Regions from separate parts of the Homo sapiens genome. Here regions 2, 3 and 4 are each linked to region 1. Evidence: promoter capture Hi-C in human tissues and cell types (Jung and others, 2019). All regions are on one chromosome and are shown on one strand. The core of a region is centred on a gene start or on the middle of the fragment in contact, and the rest is flanking DNA. Distances in the headings are between cores, read along the strand shown.

Region 1 (3,936 bases), core at 506-3,005:
TGGTTTTATGTTCCTGCGTTAGTTTGCTGAGGATAACGGCTTCCAGCTCCATCCACGTCCTTGGAAAGGACATGATCTTGTTCCTTTTTATGGCTGCATAGTATTTCGTGTTGTGTATGTACCACATTTTCTTTATCCAGTCTATTACTGATGGGCATTTGAGTTGAATCCATATCTTTGCTATCGCAAATAGTGCTGCAATGAACATACGCATACAAACATTATGCATGCCATCTTTGTAAAATAACGATTGATATTCCTTTGCATATATCCCTAGTAATGGGATTGCTAGGTCAAATGGTACTTCTGGTTCTAGGTCTTTGAGGAATCACCACACCATCTTCCACAATGATTTAACTAGTTTACATTATGGAACTGAAATAATAAGCCATTTTATCAGAAAGGTTAACATCTGTTAAGGCCTTATATTTTTTTACGTAGCTTAAAATCTGTTGAAGGCTTACTATATGCCAGGCACTGCAAAACGCATTTTATAAGCTTTATTTTATTTAGCCTAACAATAACTGTAGGGGATGCAGACATGCATTAGGTATCTATCCTTACTGATTTTCTTATCAGAAGCAACCCAAATCTCACCTTCCTGGCAGGTAGATCATTATAGGCTCTTAGCTACTATTAATAATTAAATTATTTTCCTATGCAGTAGCTGAATGAATAGCAGAGACAACTATAGTTTACAATCAAGATTTTTGTCTAAACTTTTAAGAGAAAGTCCAGTTTTATTATTTAAAACATTTTGAAAAAAATTATAACATTTATATATCATCTTTTCCTCGATGCATAACACTTTTTACAAAGTTTAGTGGTAGATAAGTGAGGGGTAACTCAAATCAGAGAAACAGGGGTGCAGACGTTTGATTAACTTGTCTCATATCATAACTTTTCAAGATTTCATTATCATTCCACAACACTGCCCTCAAAAAAGAATTTTGTAATTACCATTGAGTGACAAAATACCAAGTAGTGACAGAGGTGTATAGACGAACTCAAAAGTTATTGTAGGAGGACACTGATAAAATGTTGGGGAAAATCACAAAAGACACGAGAAGATAATTTAGAGCTCTATGCCCAAATCACATGACTCCAGTCTCTGGCTCTCTTAGCCAGAACAGCGAATCTTTTACAATTTACCTCTTGTTGCCAATAATTTTCTATTATCTTCAAATAATAATAGGCTGGAGTATGAACCTAGTTTATCAATACTTTTTTAAAAAACCGACATTCCTCTCTTAAGGAGTCCATGCATTCTCCCCATTTTTTAGAAAATTGTTCCATGAAGAGGAATTAAGTTTATTCCTTTGAATTCTAGTCTGCATCCCAGCTTTTAGAACACGGGATGCAGAACCAGTTGATTTGCCACAGGCCAAGTCCTGAGTCTCCAGCGAATCAAGCAATTAACCAGTCACTTGGCCTTTTTGCAGAAATCCACAAAACGTGTAGACTCGCTTAATTCCATCTCCTCCTGGCCTCTTCACACGGAAATTGGCTGCTCGGGCGAATGTTGTTTTTCTCCGCAGCCATGTGTCGAAGGGCGATTAACATTCGCTCGACAAAACCCTGTCCCGGGCCATTTGGGAGTTGCACGCGTTCACACCCGGGGCTCAGCCCGGTGCGCCTTCACGCGCAGCCTTTTTGTTTATGCGGCTAGCAGGGAGAGGGGCGGAGAGGCAGCGAACCTCTCAATGTGCAGCAGGCCGCGAGGGCTATATAAAGCTCGGGTCTCGGACCTACTGGAACTGGTCAAGATTGCCCGCGAGCTGGCAGCGGCCTTCCGCCCAGCTCTGCGGCGTCATGGAGAACGCGGGAGGCGCAGAGGGTACAGAGAGTGGAGCTGCGGCGTGCGCGGCCACCGACGGCCCTACGCGGCGCGCGGGCGCGGACTCCGGGTAGGCTTCCCCGCGCTGCTCTGCGCCTCCCAGCTTCCCCCGTCTCTCCCTCCTGCGCCTCCCCAGCTCCTCCCCTCCAACTCTCCATCCCCCACTGCCCGGTGCCAGCGCTCGGCTTCGGTGGATTCTCCCGGGTCTGGGCTCACGTCTCCTCTGCGCGCCTTGTGCTCCCCTATCCCGCAGATACGCAGGCTTCTGGAGACCCTGGGTGGACGCCGGAGGCAAGAAAGAAGAGGAGACGCCGAACCACGCCGCGGAGGCGGTGAGTGAGCCACGCGTCTCAGGCCGCGCCTCCCACGGGTGCAGAAGATCGACCAGGGCTCTCGGGACGCAGGGCCTGAGAGAGACATGCGAGACACCGGGTCCTGCCTCTCGCTTAACATCCCGCCTGCCGGTGGCCATAAAGGTGCCGACGCGGCGGATGTGTCCTCTGGAGCGATGGGCCACAGGCACCCAGCCGGGAGCGAGGCTGCTGAGAGCCCTGGGGTTACATTCCCAGCGGGCACGAGGAACACTGGGTCGTGCACGTTTCCACTTTCTAGAAGGAGGTGGGTGATAACTGGATTCACTTCCTTTCCTCTCCAGATGCCCGATGGCCCTGGAATGACCGCAGCCTCAGGAAAGCTTTACCAATTCAGGCACCCAGTCAGGTGAGTGACAGGCCTCGCCGAAGGTCTCCCGCTCCTCCAGCCCCAGGGAGGAGCCAGGGGCATCGCGCAGCCCAGCTCCGCAGCTGGTCCTGCAGTCTCTCTCTCTCTCTCTGAAAATCTGGCTTCAAGGTTACTTATCTTCTCACTCATCAAATTGAAAAAGGTAGGGGCTCACGGTCCCACGTAAAGGGACTGTTGATGAATACATACTCAGTGAACTTGATGAATATATTACGAAGAGGGAAAGGGGATGATATGGTAAGAGAGCGGTGACATCTTGTGCTGGCAAAACAGTTTTTATTTTTAAATCCTAAAGGGTTCGAATGAAATTGACTTCGCATCAGGCAGAGTGTGTATGCTGCTTTTGTCTTGCAATCTGGAAGGAAGAATGGGATTAACAGTTACAGTCTTACAAGTTTGCCGAGTAGGAAAAAATAGAAATGTAATGAAAATCCTAAAGATTATTGAGAATGGTTATAGAAAGGGTCAAAAGTTTATTTAACTTGCGGAGCTAGTTTACTGTTCCTAGTCACAGGAAGTCAGCCTTTATCTAAGATTCTGTGTCACTTTTATTCAGGTGAAATGTTAAGAATTCTGCAGTTTTCCTGCCTCCGAGAGCTGTTAAATGAAGAGCTGGATGATGTTTGTAAAGTGCCCCTGGTCATAAATAACACATAGAAGTCATTACATCTAATTTCCTACCGTGTGCTAGCACTGGTGAAGGACACAGGAAAAAGTAGTCACAGCACATGGCAAGTGTTGTAATGGAATTTAGTTTGGTTAGTTTTACAAGTATGGGCAGGGCACGAAGTGCCTAAATCTGTCAGTGGTAGGGGGAAGGGTCAGGGAAGTGTATATTATAAGTTGTGGTTACCTGGCTGAGTCTTGGAAAAGTTAGTCAGATGAATGGGAAGTGGGAGCAAAAGAAATAGCATTGGAAAAGAGAAGCAGGATCATGAAACGGTGTGGCTCCTTGCGGGAACTCCAAGGAGTTTAGGTGTGTGAAGTTGTGGTCATTTTAGCAGGGTAATCAGAGGCCAAATCTTGCACACTCTTGTACAGAGTTCTGTCCTGATCCTGTATGTAGTGTTGGGAACCCATGGGCTTTATTCCGAAGGTAGTCTTGGGGGTTATATGTTAAATAGGCTTAGTCAGGGCATCAAAAGTAAAACTGGAAGTTCTGCAATTTTTCAGGTAAGAAATAATGATGAACCATTGTAAGACAGTGGAAGTGAGGGTGAGACTGGGTGAATCTAGGAAATACTTGAATGACAAAATAGATTAGGCTTTATAACGTATTGGATATGTTAGGTGAAGAAGAGGTAAAAGGCCAGAATGGCTCCTAAGTTTGTGGCTGGTGAGCAGGTGAATGCTGTACT
Region 2 (3,936 bases), core at 1,007-3,506, 250 kb before region 1:
TTAAAATCCATTAAGCTTTATTTCTAAAGAAATCTACTTAGTTGCTGTACATATTGCATAGGACCTCAAAAAGGCATGTTTTAAAGTTGTAAAGTTATGCTGTGTTAAACAAAACATAACTGGTTTTCTGATTATTCTAGAGTTCTACCACTTACCCATTGTAGAGAGACAAAATATTTAAAAAATGGCCACACAAAATGGCCAAAGAGATTTTAGCTTAGGTTTTTATTAAAAATTAAATCTCTGAATAATTTCTTAAAAACCAATGAAGGCATGAAAGAAATTACAGAAAATCACTGAAAATCACAAAACAGATAATGACATATATAGACTCCTGAACATAAAGGATGGAAATTGTATAGCTATCAGAAGCCAGGAGACAATTTATAGAACTAAACAGATCAATAAAATAATTATGATGTGATTTTCAGATGTAATTGTCATTGTACACTCATTTCTCAGCCAGATGACTGGAAAGGATATTGATAAAATCACAAGAACAGTCTCATTCTTTGACATTAAGTTGCATGATTCTCTGCAGTACTCATCCTTTAAGCTTATATTTAAAGCTACAAAGAATGCCATCATGAAAATTTTCTAAACATACAGATTTTTCCACTTGATGAATATAGTCAAAACAGAAATAAATGACAAACAAAAACAGCATAATGGCATGAAGAATATTTCAAAGAAATATCTTAGTCTTTATTATTCTAGAGGGCTATGCAGGAAGTAAGATAGAGTTGATTGATTTCTTTGAGGTAATCAACTCCTTATAAGTGGACTGGAAACAAAAAATCTAAACAGCTAAGGCGTAGAAATGTTTCAGCACAAAATTATTATGCATCCTGTCCATATTTTCCTTACTTTTTTTCTGTTAACACAAGCCTATGAGAAACTACCCATAGCTACATCAATAACAGAGGGTGGGGGAAGGATAGATTTTAAATTAAAACATTTACTAAGTGTATTACCTATTATTATTATGGAACTTTCAAGCTAGAAGGACTTTAGAGATCTTCTAGACCAAGTTTCCAATTGTATAGATGGGAGAACTGAGGCCAAAGGAGGTCAAGAGGCTTACCTTTAGTCAGGCCTAAACAACTTTGACAAACTCTATTTACCACCTGATTTAGATTTGTGGAAGGAAGAGGAAGTTGATTTTATAAATGTAAGCTAAAATTTAAATTTTTGGTTTCAAAGGATATAGGGGCATAAATGAAAACCTAACCCTCTATAGTGGGTGGCTCTTTTTAATTTAATTTTATTTTTGAGACAGGGCCTTGCTCTTCACCTAGGCTAAAGTGCAGTGGCGTGATCAGGCTCACTGTAACCTCCACTTCCTGGGCTCAAGCAATCCTCCTGCCTCAGCCTCCCAAGTAGCTTGGACTACAGGTGCTTGCCACCACAACTGGCTAGCTTTTAATTATTTTGCAGAGACAAGGTCTCACTATATTGCCCAGGCTGGTCTCAAACTCCTGAGCTCAAGCAATTCTCCATCTTGGCCTCCCAAAGTACTAGTATTACAGATGTGAGCCACTGCGCCAGACCATGGGTGACTCTTTATTCAAGGGTCTGCAATCCTTTTTCTCCTACTCTTTTACAAACAGGTTTCTCCTGTTCCATAGGAATGGACAGCAAGGCAGCAGAAAATGTCTTTTGTGCAGCAGTGGCAACAAAGCTGTGTCTAGTGGAGTGCTCCTTGTCTTGGATGATGTTGGCCAACCTTAGAGACTGGAGCATGGCATGTAGCAGAGTGGTAGGTGACAGTGTGTTAAATGTATGTTCCCAGGGGTACATATTGATTACACCAAAGCCTGCCAAATCTCTCTTGCTTTCACCATTTTCTTCCTCCAATTTCTTTACCATATTCTCAAAATGCCCTAGGAAAGATGTTATATGGTAATGAAGATACACAAAACTATAATGACTATAACATCACTTGACGTATGTGTTTGATATGAGAACTTCTTTAGGTGTGGACATTGGTACCACACAGATGGGGATACATATATGAATAAACTGGCTTCACATGGCTCATCAGGTCCAGGCATATTATAGTGGGTCAGAATTTACATTTCCATGGAAAGCATATTTTTAGACAATCATTTCAAAGACTGACTTAAATCTGTTTTCAATCAGCCTTTCAAGTGCTGCTTCAGATGTTTTCTCAGAGTTCCAAAACCAAAGATGATCCAAGTTTTTATTTGGACAGAACAAACTTAAAGCTGTAAAAACAGGCACATCCCTTAACTCTCTTCAAAGGCTTCCAAACCTGAATTACTCTTAGATTATTTTTTGCCCTAAACATTAAGAAACAACTTAGGCCTGTGTTGCTCCTCCTACATTCCCCAAATATTCTCTGGGCTAGTTCTAATCTGGCCGAAAAGCTAAATAAACCTAAAGGTGACAGAGAGCTCTGGTACCACTTTTATACAGACACTGGAGAGCAGGAACCTAAAGGCAGGAGTTCTGAAGGTAGCAACATGAATTCTAATGTTAAAAAACGTGAAAATCAAATGGGCCTGATGCATTGCAATCTCTGCTATAAAATTACTAAAATTAAGTGAAGAGAAAGTTGATGAATTTAGTGAAGATAAATATACATGAATAAACATTGAAAAAGTACTTAAACACTCTGACATGCTGTTACATAACGGAAAAAATTTTAAAGACCTTAACTCCCAAGTAATTTTAGCAATCCTGAAAAAATGAAAGTAGCAGCGAGACTAACTAACCTCCAAAGAGATCCACTTCAGCAGTGACAGCAGTAACAGTTGTAGTAGTGGAGGCAGAAGCTGAGGCAGTTGCAATTTCAGCAGTTGTAGTAGGAGGGGTAGGTTCTGGTGCAAATGGATCTGAAATCTGTGCTTCAGAGGGAACAGAGGAAAGTGCAGCCAAAGAATCTATATTTCACCAGAGACAGAGAGCAAACGGAGAGAAGAAAAGCAAAGGACAAAAGATATACCAGACTCCAAATGATCAAAATAAGGACAGTTGTTACATACAGAAGTCTGTCAAAATGGAAGTTTAAAAACAAAGCTTTACTCACCCTCTCCCAAAAGGTCTACCGATGTCCATTACATGGCAGCATAAGAATAAATAAGAGCTAAAGTTGAAACATGCAACCATACCAATGTCCAAGCCAGATAAGGCACTAACTAAAAAAACCTTAGCTTTATGTGTCTTCTACACCATTTGCAATTAAAAAATAAATGTACTACCTATTATCATGGAACTTTTAAGCTAGAAGGGACCTAGAGATCCTCTAGACCAAGTTTCACCTTTAGACATGTACTTCAGATTTTATTAACAAGCAAATGGGTCACAAAACTACTTGTGCTGTAGCTAACCTTATACATGAAGATATCAGAGTCATATGATCACATAATATTGATTAGCTTTCAAATACATGTTGGTAGATAATTTTAATTCTAATAAATTCTGGCAGTAATCCCATGTTTCTCAAAAAAAGTAGAAATTTCACTTTAAGCATGTATAAAAAGAAACTGTTTTCCCATGTCTAAAATATACAGACACACAACACACACTTATTTGTGCTTCTGCAACATGAATTTACTATGAAGAAAATAAAAAACACTCTATTAGGGAGCCAAAGATGAGGATTTAAAAAATCCTCTGTATTCTTTCAGCCGATTGGGTTCATCACCAGCCTGTAGAAATGCCAAATCTTACATGCACAATTTAAATTAAATTTACTAAAATAAATTTGCTAAAATTTGGTTGCTTTACACCAACAGGAAAAAAAATGCTATCATTACAATGTGTCCCCTGAAATAAAAATGTGTGTTGGTACCTATAACCCCCAAGAAAAATTTAGAGACATTTGAAGTGGCTATGGTCCTTGGAAATGAGACCATCCAATTAGGCTTACAGAGTTTTACAGTTTATAATTTACTGCCTAGTTATACAGAA
Region 3 (3,936 bases), core at 425-2,924, 220 kb before region 1:
CTTTGGGATTAGTTTGTTCTTGTTTTTCTAGTTCCTTTATGTGTGATGTTAGGTTATTAATTTGAGATCTTTCTAACTTCTTGATGTAGGTGTTTAGTGCTATAAACTTTCCTCTTAAAACTGCCTTTGCTGCCTCCCAGATATTTTGGTATGTTGTGTCTGTTTTCATTTGTTTCAAAGAATGTTTTGATTTCTGCCTTAATTTTGTTGTTTACCCAATAGTCATTCAGGAACAAGTTGTTCAGTTTCCATGTAATTGTGTGGTTTTCAGAGTTCCTCTTGGTATTGATTTCTATTTTTATTCTACTGTGGTCTAAGAATATACTTGTTATGATTTGATTTTTTTGATTTATTGAGATTTGCTTTATGGCTGAGCATGTGGTGGATCTTAGAGTATGTACCCTGTAGAGGTGACAAGAACATACATTCTGCGGTTGTTGGGTGGAGTAGTCTGTAGATGTCTATTAGGTCCAATTGGTCTAGTGTCAAATTTAAGTTCATAATTTCTTTGTTAGTTTTCTGCCTCAATGATCTGTCTAATGCTTTCAGTGGGGTGATGAACTCCCTCATTATTGTTGTGTGGCTGTCTGTCTTTTATTAGGTCAAGAAGTACTTCTCTTATAAATCTAGGTGCTCCAATGTTGGGTGTGTATATATTTAGGATAGTTAAGTCTTTTTCCCCCCTAATCTCTCATCTCTGGCTGAAAATTAAGTCTTCTTGTTGAATTGAACCATTTATCATTATGTAATGTCCTTCTTTGTACTTTTTCTTTTTTTACTGTTGTTGGTTTTCAGTTTATTTTATCTGATACAAGAGCAACAACCTCTGTCCTTTTTTGTTTTCTATTGGGATGGTGGATCTTTTTTCATCCCTTTACTTTGAGGCTATGCGTGTCATTACATGAGATGGATGTACTGAAGACAGTACATCTTTTTTTTTAATCCAACTTGCCACTCTGTGTCTTTTCAGTCAGGTGTTTGTACCATTTACATCAAGGTTAGTATTCATATGTGAGGTTTCATTCCTGTCATCATATTGTTAGTTGGTTGCTTTATAGTCTCAGCTGTGAAGTTGCTTTGTAGGAATTATGGACTATGTACTTATATGTGTTTCTGTGGTAGCAGGTTTCTTTTGTTTCCAAGTTTAGAACTCCCTTAAGCACGTCTTTTAAGGCCAGTTGATTGGTAACACATTCCCTTAGCAATTGCTTGTCTGGGAAAGATTTTATTTCACTTTCACTTATGAAGCTTAGTTTGGTAGGTTATGAAATTCTTAGTTGGAAATTCTTCTCTTTAAGAATACTAAAAATAGGCTACAAATCTCTAGCTTGTAAAGTTTCTTTTGAGAAGTCTGTCGTTAGCCTGATGAGGTTCCTTTTATAGGTGATTTGTTCCTTTTCTCTAGCTGCCATTAAGATTTTTTCTTGTGTTGATCTTGGAAAGCTTGATGACTCTGTGCCTTGGGATGGTCATCTTGTATAGTATCTTGTAGGGGTTCTCTGAATTTCTTGTATTCACATGTCAATCTCTCCAGCAAGACTGGGTAAATTTTTGTGGATTATATCCTCAAATATGTTCTCCAAGTTGCTCACTCTCTCTTCTCTCTCAGAAATGCCAATGAATTGTAGGTTTGGTTGCTTTACTTAACACCATATTTCTTGGAGGTTTTGTTCATTTTGTAAAATTCCTTTTTTCTTTATTTTTGTCTGTCTGGGTTGATTCAAAGGACTCGTCTTCAAGCTCTGAAATTCTCTCCTCTGTGTGATCTAGTCTGTCATTAAGGCTTCCAACTACATTTTCAAATTCCTGTAGTGAACTTTTCAATTGTAGAAGTTCAGTTTAGTTCTTTTTAAATATAGCTATCTCATCTTTCATATCTTGGATCATTTTCCTGGCTTCCTTGTATTGGATTTCAAATTTCTCTTGGATCTTATTGAGCTTCCTTGCCATCCAGATTCTGAATTCTGTGTCTATAATTTCAGACATTTCAATGTGGTTAGGATTCATTGCTAGGGAGCTAATGCCATCCTTTAGAGGTAAACAAAACATTCTGACTTTTTGCATTGCCTAAGTTCTTGAGCTGATTCCTTCTCGTCTGAGGGAGCTGGCTTTTCTTTTTCTTTGTCAATTTGCTTTCATTTGGATAGGGCTTTTTGTTTTTACATTCTTTTTTCCCGTAAGGGTTGACTGTGGTGAATGTTGTATATAGTTGATCGGTTTCGTTTCTGAGCGCTTTCAGAGGGTCAAGGCTCTGTTCTAGGTTCTGAGGTTATAGATGGGCTCCTGTGGTGCATTTCAGAGGTGTTGCACGGTGAAACAATGTATTTTTGTTTGGTGGTGCCATTCAGGTTGCAGTCTCGTAGACAGCTCTTCACAGTGACATCAGGGCCAGCAGATATACTCTTACTCAGCCAGACACCTCTTATTTTTCAGTGCGTATGTGGCAGTGCTCTGGGGAGGGGAGGCAGGGGCCAAGAGATAAGTCTCAGTCCAAGTTTGTTTCCAGGCCTTGGGCCTTGGTGCTGTCCCCTTCAAGTACTGGTGCTGCACCCATGTTTTCTTTGCTCAAAAGGGGGCTTTGGCAGGCTGTGCTACCCTCTCCCTTTAGGGATGGTCCCAGCTGAGAGATCATCAGGAGATCTCTAACTCTTGGGGGGCCCACTGTGCTTGTGAGAGTCAGAGCAGGTTGTGGGATATGACTACTAGCGGTCTGGTGTTGCAGTGGGTTGGGGTGAAGAATCCCTGGGCAGGGCAATGGTATCATGTATACGCAAGTGGAAAAGTGCCTGTGGCCCAGGGTTTCCAGCCTGGCAGACAGCTGTGGGGCCCACTCAGCTTGTGCTCCTCTGACCCAACAGGTCTTCCTCCAGTGTCTGCCCCAGGAGCATTTTGACTGGCTAGACTTGTTCCAAGCCTTCTGCTCTCAGATCACTGAGCTGTTCCAGATGATGTGGGCTGCAGGGCTCCCTGGGAAAGAAGATGTGGCTTTCAGGCGGCACCCTTCTCAGATGGGTCTTGTGAAGGGAGGGACACCCAGCTCCTACATTTGTACAAGAACCTGCACCAGCATAAGAACCTAAGTCACAATCTTCTTTTTGTTCTGACACTGGGAGCTCTTCCTCCACTTGAGCTCAGGCCATAGATCTCAGCACGATACTCGTGGGCAGTGTGCTTGAGTCCCAGGGAGTTGAAACCAGGCCTGCAGATTTGTCTTCTGGCCCCTCGGGGTTAAGCACTGGCTGTGCTGGGGGTGCCAGACTGCTTCCAGGCCACCAGCAAAACACTCAGGTAGGGAAGCGCGGGGGCTGCGCTGTGGATATCCTCCTGTGGGAGTGGCCAGGCAGGAAATCTTGGGAGGGGCCAGCAGGTGAGGGGGCATTCATCCTGGTCCTGCAGCAATGGTCCTGGCCAGTAGAGAACAGGAACTGCAGAGCAAGATGGAGCGCCTTGGGGGATGGGCACCTATGGTCATGTTTTACTGCAGCTGGCATGTGGTGGCTCCGAGCAGGTTTCCCGGCTTCCTCCCTCTTCAACTATGTTGAAGGCAACTGTGTTGCCTCTCTATTGATTTTCAGTATTTTCTCTCAAAAGATCTGTTGATCATCAGCATGATGATTCACTCGATATTTTGGTTCCTCTTGGTGGGAGAGGCATTTGCTAGCTTTGTCTAGTTGGCTGTCTTCCTTCCCTCTCTGGAATTATCCTTCTAATGACTGAACTTTGGCTTTAGGAACAGTTTAGCCACTGATGCTTCCCTAAAGCCACTTATATTATTACAAATTAGGGAAATTATCAGTTAAAGCAACTGCATTGTTTATTTGTATGTTTTAACACCACTTTAGATGATCCATTTAAAAATATTAATATGAACAAAAGAGGCATTTTTATGAGACTGACTCGCTGCCTACTGTGATAAGAAGGCACTGAAAGAGGCAT
Region 4 (3,936 bases), core at 701-3,200, 150 kb after region 1:
TACATTTGATGCATCTGTTCAGAGTTTCATGATTGTGCTATGTCGGCCTTTTTGTGACCTCTGATCACTTAGTCTGATTTAGGGCCCTGTAGGCACCCTGAAGCTAAGGACTTTGCTTGCTTAACTTGTGTTTCATACTGGGTATTTCTGAGTCATTTCTGATGAGCAGAGGGCTTGAGGGAAGCATGAACAAAAGAAGTGAGAGCTGGTTGGGCATATAAGCACTTGGTCCTGATGGAGGCTTTGTGGCACCTGACTTGCCAGCTGCTTCAGTGCCTGTCCTCACAGTTCAGGATTCACCTAATGTGCTGAGATAAAGCAGCAAACAGATCCTGAGAGTAGAGTCAGGCTACACAGGCATTATATGCATGGGCTTTTGCATGACTTTTGATGGGTCAAAGATAAATGCTCAAGCTTGTGAGCATCCAAGAGACAGGTCTGGAAGGATATACCAGTGTGTCAGAACTGGAAAGTGTTGCGATCTGGAAGAGAAGCACAACTCCAGCAGAGAATGGCAGGGAGCTTTTCTGTTAGTCCTGTGGAATTCAACCATGAACTGAGAAATCATCTCACTGGGACACACTTGCAGTCATCCATTTAAAGTTAAGAGCCATAACAGAACAGGATTTAGGGTATAAGTAAATAAAAAATGTGCCACCAATCTGGGGAAATATCTTGCTAAATAATTGCCATCTTCCCTATGTGTATTAGTGCCCGTGATCAATAGACCTGGGTGTAGATCATTTTATCCATCTCTTTTGGAACAGATTCACCTTATTCTTAAAAGCCAACTCAGACACTCAGTCTCATTTTTCATAGTGTTCCAGTTCAAAACTTGACAGTTCTTGAAACTCTTCAAAAATAATTCAGGAAATTATTTCTGTAGCTTTTTAAATATATGAGGTGGATAATATAAAAATTTGAAATTTACCTTGGATAAGCAGCATCACTTAGACGGTGAGGGTGAAGAATAAAAATCTGGGACGCACTAAAGTCTACTCTTTTCTCCACTTCACATTTATTGGGAATATTCTGGAAAGTGGCTTTTGCCCGTGGTTCCTAAATGTCTTCCCCCTGTGAGCTATACCAGTCATCAGGTGTGTTATGTCCATACAGCTTTCCTAAGAAATGGAAATTAAAGTGTCTTTCCAACTCCACAGGCACCATAGCTGCTGAATAATAAAGAGGATAAATGGCTCACATTTAGGAACTACTTACTGTAGGTACAACTGGGAATTTTCAGGATGCAGGTCTTTTTACAAAAGTTCTAGCAGCTGCATTTTACTAAATGAAGGGTTTGTTGCTGTTGTTGTTGTTGTTGTTAATGGCCACACTGGTGTATACCAATAAACAGAAAATCTCATTAGCATCCTTTCTCTTTCCCACACACCCTCTCTATATGGCTTAGAGGCAAAGTGGGGATTAATTTGTTTTGTATCATGGGAAGGGAGGTATTCAGAAAATTAAATCATGGATAAACTTGAAACAGACACAGTCAGAAGTAACCTTATCATTAAGTGACATTTATTATGTTCCCATATCACACAATTCTACTAATTTACAGAGCTCATGCCAGCTTATAAATTTTATGCATTTTTTCCTCCCAATCTTTCGTCTATTTCTGTTTCCCTACATATTAGTTAGGAATGTTTTTAGCTTTAAGTAACAAAGCCCAACTAAAAGTAGCTTAAGTCATAAGGATATTTATTATTTATTTAATGAGCAGTCTAGAGTGGTATAGATGGCATCATGGTTGTTTGGTACCTCCAAGATGCCAATCATAGATCTTTATTCCTTTGCTTCACCATTCTCAGTGTTGGCCTATTGTCCCCTTGGTTGTCATTGTATGTTCACAAGATAGCACAATTCCCGCATCACATCCTTACATCATTTTCAATGCCAGGAAGCAGAAATATAAGGGGCAGGTGCAAAAAAAAAAAAGTGATTTGGCACTGACTAGTTATAAGAAGAGCACTAACTCCTCAGGGTAGTATAACTTGGCAAATGTTAAAACAATGAACAGTAATAATATTGTACACTTTGTGTCAAGCATTGTGCTTTACAATTATTATCTTTTTAATCTTCACAACAGTGCTATGAGAGTAATACTATGAAAATCTTCTTTTTTTTTTTTGAGACGGAGTCTTGCTCTCTTGCCAGGCTGGAGTGCAGAAGCATGATCTCAGTTCACTGCAACCTCCACCTCCCGGATCCAAGCAATTCACCTGCCTCAGCTGAAAATCCTCATTTTATAGCTATTAAAAGATGATGTAGCAATATTAAAAATGATTTTTACAAAAAAAAATTGACATTTTAGCCTACCATTCTATACAAAATGTTTTAATTTTGTCCTGAATATGGACATGTGTGACTCAGATCTACCTTCAGGGAAGGACCTGTTGCCTTAGCTCCTAAGAGTGTTGTTATGAGACACCTTTCAGCTGGCAGCCCCTCGGGGGAGAGAACTGACTCTCCCAGGCTCGCCTTCTCCCTCGGTGGCCAACATCCAATCACTGATTGGGGGTATACAGACCAGGTATTCTGGCCCAATGTGGGACAACTCTAAATGGGCCAGTTCATCTAGACTCCCCCCTCTGCCCATTCCTGATTCCTCTTTCTTCTTTCTACAGGTCTTGATCCTAAGGGTATTTCCTGATAAACATCCTGAATCCAACTCTGTCTTAGAATCTGCCTCCTAGAAAAAAATCAAACTGTGACAACTTTTAAGATCCCTTCCACCTCCTGTCTACATGCATTTTTATTTTACATTATTGCAGACATACTGAAGTACTACTTTTGTTATAATTTTTAATCTTAACGTTCTATCATGATCAACTCCTCATGTTGATAAATAGCCTTCATAGTTACCTTTTTAAAATTTAAAACTAAAGTAATTTAATCATATTACAGAATGTTTGAAAAAAAAATTACTCATAATCCCACTACCAAACATAGTTGATCATTTTGACATATTTCCTGTTATTTTTTCCCAATGAATAGTTTTGATAAGGTTATAATCACAACTTATAAGCAGCGCCCTTTTCCACATTATTTTAAAATTCTTTATTTATTTACTTTTATGATCTCACTCCAGAAAGGATTAAAAGCAGCCTATAAAATTACATAAATTCAGTAAAAGGGAAGCTAGGCATCAGCAGGGGTCTTCTATTCCTCGGGGATTTATGTAAACATACATCAAATACTTGAACATGTGGCAAATGAGAATCCAGAGCCCTTCTAAGATTTTGAGAATATCTGACTTCTTCATGTGTTTTTCTTAACTCCTTTGTCTGCCTAACAGTGAAAACTGGCTACCCAAGTCTTGCCCATATCAATCCAGGTGATAAGCACAGTACTTTTACTAGTTGCCACACATTCACACACTCAAAACCTACGAAATACACTAAAGAAAAAAAATAAAACCCACTTTAACTAGACATTTTGTGACTCTGCTCACTTCACTAAAGGTTTGGAGTTCCCATCTTTCTGTCTCCCTCTTCCTTCCCCATTTGCTGTTGTAACAGACAAATTCTTCCCCTCCCCTACTGTAGCATCAGTTCCACCTAATTTCAGGCCCTTCAGACCGAGCTTTTGCCCCACAGCAGCTTATTTCACCATTCATTTCCTCAATATGGGCAGGTTTTGTCCTACAAGGAATGCTCTCTTTTTAAACATTGAGAAAAGAAAAATATTTTTGGATCTCCACATTAAAATAAGACAGTGAGGGAAAATGAGAGAGTATGATGCCAACAGAGAGGCTGGTCACAAAGATAGGTCAAGCAGTTTCTGAATTTGAAAAGTTGTGAGGGAGGGCAGAGGAAGGATTGAAATCAAGCAACATGACAAAGAAGTATCTGAATAACTTAGCAGCTGGTGGGACCTGTGGAACCAAAGAGATGGGGAAGTAAAGTTACACCAGAATTATGAATCAGGGAT

What was found. The method cuts DNA at HindIII sites, captures the fragments that hold promoters and counts their contacts. A contact is called where the count stands out against the background at its distance.
Region 2: a fragment that was not itself captured here is called in contact with the fragment with the promoter of RIPPLY2 in region 1 in 1 of the 25 tissues and cell types used here (hippocampus).
Region 3: a fragment that was not itself captured here is called in contact with the fragment with the promoter of RIPPLY2 in region 1 in 2 of the 25 tissues and cell types used here (H1 embryonic stem cells and mesendoderm cells).
Region 4: a contact is called between a fragment that was not itself captured here and the fragment with the promoter of RIPPLY2 in region 1, in 2 of the 25 tissues and cell types used here (liver and spleen).

Annotation. Positions count from the first base shown.
Region 1 is chr6:83,851,605-83,855,540 of GRCh38, forward strand. It overlaps RIPPLY2 (ripply transcriptional repressor 2), which reads left to right and starts at 1,756. Exons shown (of 4, transcript NM_001009994.3): 1 at 1,756-1,907; 2 at 2,091-2,169; 3 at 2,493-2,557. The coding sequence starts at 1,813. RIPPLY2-CYB5R4 (RIPPLY2-CYB5R4 readthrough) reads left to right here and starts at 1,756. Exons shown (of 18, transcript NR_174604.1): 1 at 1,756-1,907; 2 at 2,091-2,169; 3 at 2,493-2,557. The HindIII fragment of the contact is 6,654 bases long and covers 1-3,936 here.
Region 2 is chr6:83,598,533-83,602,468 of GRCh38, forward strand. It overlaps SNAP91 (synaptosome associated protein 91), which reads right to left. Exons shown (of 30, transcript NM_001242792.2): 15 at 3,053-3,067; 16 at 2,739-2,906. Among named protein-coding and RNA genes, the nearest start is that of PRSS35, 88 kb to the left of the region's middle. The HindIII fragment of the contact is 6,416 bases long and covers 1-3,936 here.
Region 3 is chr6:83,634,683-83,638,618 of GRCh38, forward strand. All of the region lies in intron 8 of SNAP91 (synaptosome associated protein 91), which reads right to left. Among named protein-coding and RNA genes, the nearest start is that of SNAP91, 72 kb to the right of the region's middle. The HindIII fragment of the contact is 4,674 bases long and covers 1-3,936 here.
Region 4 is chr6:83,998,894-84,002,829 of GRCh38, forward strand. No RefSeq gene overlaps it. Among named protein-coding and RNA genes, the nearest start is that of LINC02857, 20 kb to the right of the region's middle. RefSeq lists a silencer at 1-144. The HindIII fragment of the contact is 7,057 bases long and covers 1-3,936 here.